3 separate regions of the Homo sapiens genome follow, and regions 1 and 2 are each linked to region 3. Evidence: promoter capture Hi-C in 16 types of primary human blood cells and fetal thymus (Javierre and others, 2016). All regions are on one chromosome and are shown on one strand. Each heading gives the region's core, a stretch centred on a gene start or on the middle of the fragment in contact. The rest is flanking DNA. Distances are from core to core; before and after follow the strand shown. Region 1 holds the start of MIGA2 (mitoguardin 2). Region 2 holds the start of DOLK (dolichol kinase). Region 3 has its middle 1.7 kb from the start of C9orf50.

Region 1 (3,227 bases), core at 454-2,953, 590 kb after region 3:
AGTCACTGGGCCAGCAGAAGAAACAGCTTCTCCCCAGTGAGTGGGAAGGACTGAGGAGCCTGTCAGTCTCGCTCTAGGGCTGGTGGGGGTGTGTGAGAGGGCAGGGCAGGCTAAGGAAGCTTCCAGGTTGTCAGGGGTAGAGACATCTGCCCAGGAGGCTGTGAATTGAGCTACGTGAGCTGCAGTGGTCAGGACCTAGGTTAATACTGTAAGCCACGTCCCCCTACCCTTCACCCCAACCCCAGGCTGGCTCAGGTCTCAGAAAGAGGGAAGACAAGAACATCAGAGGGCCAGCAGCTACTATTTCCCAAGCTCTTATTCCAGGCCAGATCCAGAACAGGCTCTCCACGACAGGCTTTGGGTCCAGTCCTCTCAGAACCCTCGCAATGGCCAATGTTTATCTCAAGGATGGGGAAACGCGGAGGCTCTGAGATGAGGCAGCCTGCCTGAGGTCACCGAGTACTAAGCGGCCAAGCTCTGGGGGATCTCAAGGCTGTGGCAGGGTTTCCCAGCTTCTGCCTGCTACAACTGCCACTGCTCCTTCCAGGCCACAACTGTAGGACTTCTGGGCCCCCAAGTGAGAAGCCCACATGGTGTTAAAGATGAGCCTGAACAAATAAACGCTACAGGGGTGACTGAGGCCCACTGTTTGCGGGAGAGTCCAGAGCAGCCCCTGCTGTCCCCACTGGGAGGCAGAGCCTGCAGGTGCGAGGTAACATCACCAGCCCCCAAGCCTGCTTCACTCCAGGGATGGATCCAAATCCAGTCAACCCACACTGTGTCCGTCCCCCTGGCACCCTGTCCGTCCTCCAGGGCCTAAGCTGAGACCCCTCCACCTCCTCTCCACAATGAAAAGCCCACGGCAAGGTCCCCTACCAAATGGACACTTCTACTGCTGTGTAGGGCCTGGCCCCACTTGGGCAGCCATCTCTTGTGCCCTACAATCTTAGGCGGACACCTCCTCATTCCACCGTCACCACAGCACTTACAGCACCCTCAGCCTGGGTGCCTAAGCATATCATCCTACGCGCCTCCTCCCCTGCGCTAGACCACCCCACTAATGACTCTGGCCTGTGCACTCACTCATTCCGTCTGGACCCCAACAACGTCCCCGACTCCCTTGAGCCACTCTGCCCAGTCTCCTATTCACCCCATGCCGGACCCCTCAATAGTCCCACCATGCCGGGCACCGGGCATCCCCGCGTTGGACCTCAGCAATATCCCCGTCTTCAGAAATTGCTCACTCCACCCCAGGCATCTTGGGCAGCCCCTTCTTCTCTTGCCCCCACCCCGGAATATCATTGAAACTCACCCAGGTACCCTCTGGCGCCGCTCACGGCCCGCACGCCTGCTCCTTCCATCCCGGGTGCTCTCCCCGCCTCGGATCGGGTACCTGCGCGCCTGCTCCAATCCCCGCCACGTTCCAGGCCCGGGCATCACCTCCCTGACCCAAGTACCTTCTCGTTCCGCTCCCAAGCAAGGCACCCTCTCGCACCGTCCCCGGCCCGGGTACCCACTCATTCCAACCCCGACACCTTCCTGGTCCTGTTGGGCCCGGACACCTGCGCCTACTCGGTCCTCCGCTCAAGTCCCGGCCCTGCCGCGCTGCCCGCCCGCCTTGGGGGCTCGGCCGGGGCCGATACTCACCCGGGATGCCATCGCTGCGGAAGGGCAGCGTCTCCTTCCCCGGCGGCTGCGCAACCAAACCGGCCGCCCGGGGGCGTGGCCTAGCGCCAAGCCCCCACCCTCTTCTGGCCAATGAGCATCGCTGAGTCTCTCAGGGCCGCCGCAGCCTCTGGCCAATTAGGCGGGTCATGTGACCAAGCTTATATTCCGCCTCTCCCGCCCTCTTCCCCTCCTCCTAGTGCGGTTGAAGCGCGAAAGTGGTCTCTTCTCTTCTACTATTGGTCATTCAGATTAGATCGACATGGGCGGCTGGGTGGGGCGGGGCCATTCTTAAAGGGGCTGAAGCGGAGCAGTCAGACCTCCAAGGGGCTTTCTTGGAGTACGCCAAAGCAGGCTGAGCCCTCGTATTAGGATCCTCTATTCTTGTTCCACACAAGGACAAATCCTTCCCACTCTCCAAGCGCCCATTTTCAAATACTACCGCCCCTGACTTCCCGCAGCATGCTCTTATACTGTCGCCACTCTCCCCCTTGTTCTGGAGTTGTTTGCAAAAGTGCCAGGTCTCGCCGCTAGACAGTGTCTCTCTGAGAGCTGGAGTCAAGGGGTCTTCAGTTCTGGCCACCTATCTGGGTCTTACACTAAATACCAGGATTGAGATCAGGCCGACCTGAGATAGAATCAAGTGTTGCCACTTCAGCTCTCTAGAGCTTACCCCTCTATGAAATAGGGATGAGGCCGGGCGCGGTGGCTCACGCCTGTAATCCTAGCAGTTTGGGAGGCCGAGGTGGGTGGATCACGAGGTCAGGAGTTCGAGACCAGCCTGGCCAACCTGGTGAAACCCTGTCTCCACTAAAGATTAAAAAAAAAAATTAGCCAAGCTTGGTAGCACACACCTGTAATCCCAGCTACTCAGGAGGCTGAGGCAGGAGAATCTCTTGAACCCGGGAGGCAGAGGTTGCAGTGAGCTGAGATCCACCCATTGCACTCCAACCTGGGCCAAAGGGCGAGACTCCGTCTCAAAAAGAAAAAAAGAAATAGGGATAAAATCTTCCCTTTCCCAAATCATAGGGCTTTGGTGAGGATGGAAAGAGGACGGTGTATCAGCCCTTCCATAACTGCGAAGAGCTGGGCACAACTACGTTTTAAAATTGTAATCGTCGGCCGGTAGCAGTGGCTCATGCCTCTATTCCCAGCACTTTGGGAGGCTGAGGTGAGTGGATCACATGAGGTCAGGAGTTCGAGACCAGCCTGGCCAAAATGGTGAAAACCGGTCTCTACTAAAAATAAAAAAGCTAGCTGGGCGTGGTGGCACACACCTATAATCCCAGCTACTTGGGAGGCTGAGGCAGGAGAATTGCTTGAGCCGGGAGGAGGAGATTGCAGTTAACCAAGATCACGCCACTGCACTCCAGCCTGGGCAACAGAGCCAGACTCCATCTCAAAAAAAAAAAAAAAAAAAAAGCCCGGGAGCAGTGGCTCACGCCTGTAATCCCAGCACTTTGAGAGGCCAAGGCAGGTGGATCATGAGGTCAGGAGATCGAGACAATCCTGCCCAACATGGTGAAACCCCATCTTTACTAAAAATATAAAAATTAGCCCAG
Region 2 (3,011 bases), core at 439-2,938, 680 kb after region 3:
GCTACACAAAGAACCCAGAGAACCCACTCAAGAACACCACCACTTACCAGCTCTCTCAGAGCTGACCTTCCAAGCAGAATAGTCCACAGTTCTCTACTGCTCCTGCAAAATGAGAGAACAGAGGTAATTTTGCTCTTTCTGATCATACAAACTTGTACACTGCCTCATAGCCATTTTGTCTGCTCTCTAAAAGCAAAAAATCTCAATATACAAAACGATTTGTTAAATTTTTGGAAAGTAATCTTGTTATATAATAATATTGTTAGGGCCGGGCACGGTGGCTCATGCCTGTAATCCCAGCACTTTGGGAGGTCGAGGCGGGCGGATCATGAGGTCAGAAGATCGAGACCATCCTGGCTAACACAGTGAAACCCTGTCTCTACTGAAAATACAAAAAATTAGCCAGGCGTTGTGGCGGGTGCCTGTATCCCCAGCTACTTGGGAGGCTGAGGCAGGAGAATGGCATGAACCCGGGAGACAGAGCTTGCAGTGAGCCGAGATCGTGCCATTGCACTCCAGCCTGGGCGACAGAGCGAGACTCCGTCTCAAAAAAAAAAAAAAAAAAAAAAAAAAAAAAAAGTGGGGAAAACACTGCTGGCACAGGGAAGGATAAGAGACGGGGATGTTTAACTTTGAGGGAGGGTGGTGGGAAGAACGAAGACCTTCGAGCTGCAATGTGGAAGACAGAAGGAGGCGTGGTGGTCTGGTTATAGCACTGGAGGTACGCAGACTTCAGCTTGAAGGCTCTCTTTATCACTTGGCTAGCTCTGAGCCGGACTTCTGAGTCATCTGTGAAATAGAAGGCGCCTCTCGGAGTTGCGAGAATTGAATGAGATAACTCCTGGGAAGCGCTCCACCAGGGTCTGACGCTAGAAAGCACTTTGTCAGAATTGTAGTTTTCGTATATAATATTTCATCTTCTTGTCCCTAAAGCCTAGTTCAATCCCTGAAATCTCTTGGAGGATTTGGACATGCTGGCTGACTTGATTCAGTGCAAGAAAAGAACGATACGAGGCGCGGAGAGGACAGAAGCCGCAAGCGTGGCTCCGCTCAACGCGAAACAAAATCCTAACAAGAACAGATCGCGGGAGAGGTCGGGGAGCCAGCAGGGCGCACTCGACGCCGGGGCAGGACACTGGGAGCCTGCAGCAGGGACGTGGGTGGGGGGTACCCCAGGAGACCGCAAAGCTCCCCGTGGCTCGAGGGAGCGTCACGGCCGGAGAAGGAAGCGCGGGTGGGGCGCCAAGAGACGCGTCGGAGGTGAGAGAGGAGGAAGGCAAAGGGCCCTGGGTGAGGAGATGGGAGGCCGAGCGCGGAGGGAAGGGGTGAAGAGCCGGCCCCCCTCCTGAAGAAGACTCTTCAGATCCCCGCGCGCGGGGACCGTTTGGACGTAACCGCCTCCCGTCTCGGTGCCCGTCCATCCAGCCGGGGTTGGCCCTGCCACTGTCGCCACATCCCGCCTCCAATTCCCGCCCCGCTTCCGCTCGGCTTTGACACCGCGCTTCACAGCCACCCCGGTCCATTCGACCCGCTCCGCACCTCACACACGGCCCGCCGGCGGCCGCCGCCATCTTCGCGCGCCCGCTCGCCCTAACCCCGCCCCCAGACGCCATGCCCACGTGACCGCTCGCCCCCGGACCCGGAGCGTGGGCGGGGATTTCGTCACGTGACGTTGCCGCGGGGCGGTGCCAAGATGGCGAGGCCCAAAGAGGTGAGGAGCCGGCAGCGGGGGCGGCTGTAACTGTGAGGAAGGCTGCAGAGTGGCGACGTCTACGCCGTAGGTTGGAGGCTGTGGGGGGTGGCCGGGCGCCAGCTCCCAGGCCGCAGAAGTGACCTGCGGTGGAGTTCCCTCCTCGCTGCTGGAGAACGGAGGGAGAAGGTTGCTGGCCGGGTGAAAGTGCCTCCCTCTGCTTGACGGGGCTGAGGGGCCCGAAGTCTAGGGCGTCCGTAGTCGCCCCGGCCTCCGTGAAGCCCCAGGTCTAGAGATATGACCCGAGAGTGCCCATCTCCGGCCCCGGGGCCTGGGGCTCCGCTGAGTGGATCGGTGCTGGCAGAGGCGGCAGTAGTGTTTGCAGTGGTGCTGAGCATCCACGCAACCGTATGGGACCGATACTCGTGGTGCGCCGTGGCCCTCGCAGTGCAGGCCTTCTACGTCCAATACAAGTGGGACCGGCTGCTACAGCAGGGAAGCGCCGTCTTCCAGTTCCGAATGTCCGCAAACAGTGGCCTATTGCCCGCCTCCATGGTCATGCCTTTGCTTGGACTAGTCATGAAGGAGCGGTGCCAGACTGCTGGGAACCCGTTCTTTGAGCGTTTTGGCATTGTGGTGGCAGCCACTGGCATGGCAGTGGCCCTCTTCTCATCAGTGTTGGCGCTCGGCATCACTCGCCCAGTGCCAACCAACACTTGTGTCATCTTGGGCTTGGCTGGAGGTGTTATCATTTATATCATGAAGCACTCGTTGAGCGTGGGGGAGGTGATCGAAGTCCTGGAAGTCCTTCTGATCTTCGTTTATCTCAACATGATCCTGCTGTACCTGCTGCCCCGCTGCTTCACCCCTGGTGAGGCACTGCTGGTATTGGGTGGCATTAGCTTTGTCCTCAACCAGCTCATCAAGCGCTCTCTGACACTGGTGGAAAGTCAGGGGGACCCAGTGGACTTCTTCCTGCTGGTGGTGGTAGTAGGGATGGTACTCATGGGCATTTTCTTCAGCACTCTGTTTGTCTTCATGGACTCAGGCACCTGGGCCTCCTCCATCTTCTTCCACCTCATGACCTGTGTGCTGAGCCTTGGTGTGGTCCTACCCTGGCTGCACCGGCTCATCCGCAGGAATCCCCTGCTCTGGCTTCTTCAGTTTCTCTTCCAGACAGACACCCGCATCTACCTCCTAGCCTATTGGTCTCTGCTGGCCACCTTGGCCTGCCTGGTGGTGCTGTACCAGAATGCCAAGCGGTCATCTTCCGAGTCCAAGAAGCACCAGGCCCCCACCATCGCCCGAAAGTATTTCCACC
Region 3 (3,232 bases), core at 560-3,059:
TCTAGGTCACAACTGCTACCCCTGGTCTGAGCCCCTCTCCCAAGCTTCATTTTCTGTGTCTTTAAGCAAAGGGATTGATCCTGGGCAATTTCAATCGGTGGGGGTGTCCGGAATCCTCCGCCAGGGGGCAGCTCTGATCCAAGCTCTCTGTATGCCTAAAAATCCAGCCCTGTCTTATTTCCTGTCAACAGAAGAGCAAGCCCCTTCCCCACAGCCACGCTCCAAGGCCTTCCCAGGACTGGCCGGCTCCCTGACCTCAAAGCCTCTGGCATCTCTGAATTCCCAAGCCTAGCACATAGTAGTTCCTTGATAAATATTTGCAGAGTGCAAGGGCTGGAGGGCTCCTTAGAAACCATCTAGTTAGGCCAGGCGCAGTGGCTCACGCCTGTAATCTCAGCACTTTGGGAGGCCGAGGCAGGTGGATCACAAGGGCAGGAGATCGAGACCATCCTGGCTAACACGGTGAAACCCCGTCTCTACTAAAAATACAAAAAAATTAGCCGGGCGTGGTGGTGGGCACCTGTAATCCCAGCTACTCGGGAGGCTGAGGCAGGAGAATGGGGTGAACCCAGGATGCGGAGCTTGCAGTGAGCTGAGATCGCGACTCCGTCTCCAAAAAAAAAAAAAAGAAAAGAAAAGAAAAAAAGAAACCGTCTAGTTAATCTGGTGTTTCGCAGCCATTAAAAAAGACACATACCCTTTAAATAAATACAAAAATATCTCCCTCCCCCACTCAATATTGTAGCTCTCCAGGAAAGTATGTCCCTCCATCCCTGGTGAGAAGCATTGACAGAAAATAGAATATATCTTTGGCGACGCGTTCTCTAGTGAGTCACTCTGTTATTTGAATTACAAAGTCGTTTCTTCATTTTCAAATTATGAAACTATGCCACGCCAGTGAAATACTCATGTAAATGACCTCTGTCTCCCACCCCAGCTTCACAATACTATGAGCTTCCTCTCGGCCCTCTCCCAGCCAAGACTCAGAGATAAGGCCCAGGGAGTCCTGAGAAAGAAGACACTTCTCCAGGATCACACAGCAAAACAGCAGACCATGGACTTGAAAGTGGGTCTGTTAATTTCTTTTCTTCCTTCCTTCCTTCCTTCCTTCTTTTTTTTTTTTTGAGATGGAATCTTGCTCTGTCGCCCAGGCTGGAGTGCAGTGGCGCGATCTCCGCTCACTGCAAGCTCCGCCTCCTGGGTTCACGCCATTCTCCTGCCTCAGCCTCCCGCGTAGCTGGGATTACAGGTACCCGTCACCACAACCAGCTAATTTTTTGTATTTTTAGTAGAGACAGGGTTTCACCGTGTTAGCCAGGATGGTCTCGATCTCCTGACCTCATGATCCACCCGCCTTGTCCTCTCAAAGTGCTGGGATTACAGGCGTGAGCCACCGTGCCCGGCTCTTTCTTTCTTTTTTTTTTTATGGAGATGGAGTCTCACTCTGTTGCCCAGGCTGGAGTGCAGTGGCGTGATCTCGGCTCACTGCAACCTCCGCCTCCCGGGTTCAAGCAATTCTCCTACCTCAGCCCCCCAAGTAGCTGGGACTACAGGCACACGCTGTCACGCCCGGCTAATTTTTTTGTATTTTAGTAGAGACGGGGTTTCACCATGTGGCCCAGGCTGATTGCGAACTCCTGAGCTCAGGCAATCCACCTGCCTCGGTCTCCCAAAGTGTTAGGATTACAGGTATGAGCCACTGGAACCTGGCCTCTTTTTTTTTTGTGAGACAGAGTCTCAAATGATCTGTGTAACGGATTAGAGTTGGAGATGTCAGCATGAGCTCATGTTTAGCTTAATATAAGTACAGATGGTTACCTATAGAAATATTTATAGATATGTGTGTGTTTCATAGTATACACACACATTTCTTTGTCAGCTGAGACTGCCTGAAAGAAATGACATCTCAATAGCAAGAAGCACACCTAGCACCCAGACCTTGGATTATTATTATTATTATTTTTGAGATGGAGTCTCGCTTTGTCACCCAGGCTGGAGTGCAGTGGCATGATCTCAGCTCACTGCAACCTCCGCCTCCCAGGGTCAAGCGATTCTCCTGTCTCAGCCTCCCAAGTAGCTGGGATTATAGGTGCACAACACCATGCATGGCAAATTTTGGTATTTTTTGTAGAGACGAGGTTTCACCATGTTGGCCAGGCTGGTATTGAACTTCTGACCTCAGGTGATCCGCCCGCCTCGGCCTCCCAAAGTGCTGGGATTACAGGCGTGAGACACCGTGCCCCGCAGGGTCTGTTCATTTCTAGGTCCATTGTATTCTGACTGCCTGGTCTTGGGGTGGAAGTTCTACTTCCAGAGCCACCCAGCCTAAGCCTCCCAGATCTGGAAAGGGTAGGCCTGGCTGCCCTGGTCAGAGTCCCAGTGCCCCAGGTGGCTGCGGCCAGGGCATCCAGGGCACAATAGCCCCACCCTTAGTCCCCAGGCCTCAGTGCCCACTGCTACTCAGATGCCCAGGGGTGAGGGGCGGATCACAATGACCCTGAAGCGGCCCAGAGGCAGCCGGGAGGGGCTGGGAGAGGCACCAGGCAGGGATGATGGGCTCTACAGCCTGCCTGTAGAGAGCTCTAAACTCACAGGACCTTCTAGGGCCCCACCCAGAAGCCCACCAGGGTGAGTGTGACACTGCCCAGGAGTCAGCTCAGAGCTGACAACAATCTGGGAGTGGGGTGTGGTTGGGAGGAAGCAGGCTTAGAAACCCCTCAGTGTCAGAGCTGGGAGTAAGACTGGGGCTCTGCCTCCCAAAGGGGGAGTTTGTTAAAAGTCTGTGTCTTGGCCAGAAGTGGGGACTCACGCCTGTGATCCCAGCACTTTGGGAGGCCAAGGCAAGTGGATCACTTGAGCCCAGGAGTTCAAGACCAGCCCGTGCAACATAAATACAAAAAAATTCTACCCCATTTCTACAAAATATACAAAAATTAGCCAACTGTGGTGGTGTGTGCCTGTAGTCCCAGCTACTCAGGAGGCTGAGGCAGGAGGATCACTTGAGCCCAAGAATTTGAGGCTGCAGTGAGCTATGATGGTGCCATTGCACTCCAGCCTGGGTGACAGCAGGACCCCGTCTTAGCAAGACCCCATCTCTTTAACAACAACAACAAGAACAACAAACTGTCTTGGCTCCAGCAGAGACGTACTGAATCAGAATGGGGGCTGGGGGTAAGTCATCTGTATTTTCAACAGGCTCCCCACCCAGGGGTCTCTGAGGCAGCACCAGGGC

Evidence for each region. Contacts are between HindIII fragments. The CHiCAGO score rates a contact against its expected background, and 5 or more counts as called.
Region 1: the fragment with the promoter of MIGA2 here is called in contact with a fragment that was not itself captured in region 3 in 7 of 17 cell types (endothelial precursors, M0 macrophages, total CD4 T cells and 4 more); the score reaches 12.7 in endothelial precursors.
Region 2: a contact is called between the fragment with the promoter of DOLK here and a fragment that was not itself captured in region 3, in 1 of 17 cell types (endothelial precursors). The highest score is 5.1, in endothelial precursors.

What each region holds. Positions count from the first base shown.
Region 1 is chr9:129,035,102-129,038,328 of GRCh38, reverse strand. It overlaps MIGA2 (mitoguardin 2), which reads right to left and starts at 1,703. Exons shown (of 16, transcript NM_001329990.2): 1 at 1,648-1,703. RefSeq lists an enhancer at 1,119-1,248 and a silencer at 1,589-1,718. The HindIII fragment of the contact is 1,706 bases long and covers 122-1,827 here.
Region 2 is chr9:128,946,280-128,949,290 of GRCh38, reverse strand. DOLK (dolichol kinase) reads left to right here and starts at 1,688. Exons shown (of 1, transcript NM_014908.4): 1 at 1,688-3,011. The coding sequence starts at 1,988. NUP188 (nucleoporin 188) reads right to left here and starts at 1,592. Exons shown (of 44, transcript NM_015354.3): 1 at 1,540-1,592; 2 at 48-102. The coding sequence starts at 1,571. RefSeq lists enhancers at 1,473-1,522, 1,242-1,803, 1,873-1,942, 1,804-2,365, 2,366-2,928. The HindIII fragment of the contact is 6,982 bases long and covers 1-3,011 here.
Region 3 is chr9:129,621,225-129,624,456 of GRCh38, reverse strand. It overlaps a transcript of NTMT1 not described here and a transcript of C9orf50 not described here. Among named protein-coding and RNA genes, the nearest start is that of C9orf50, 1.7 kb to the right of the region's middle. RefSeq lists enhancers at 174-223, 234-373. The HindIII fragment of the contact is 3,526 bases long and covers 47-3,232 here.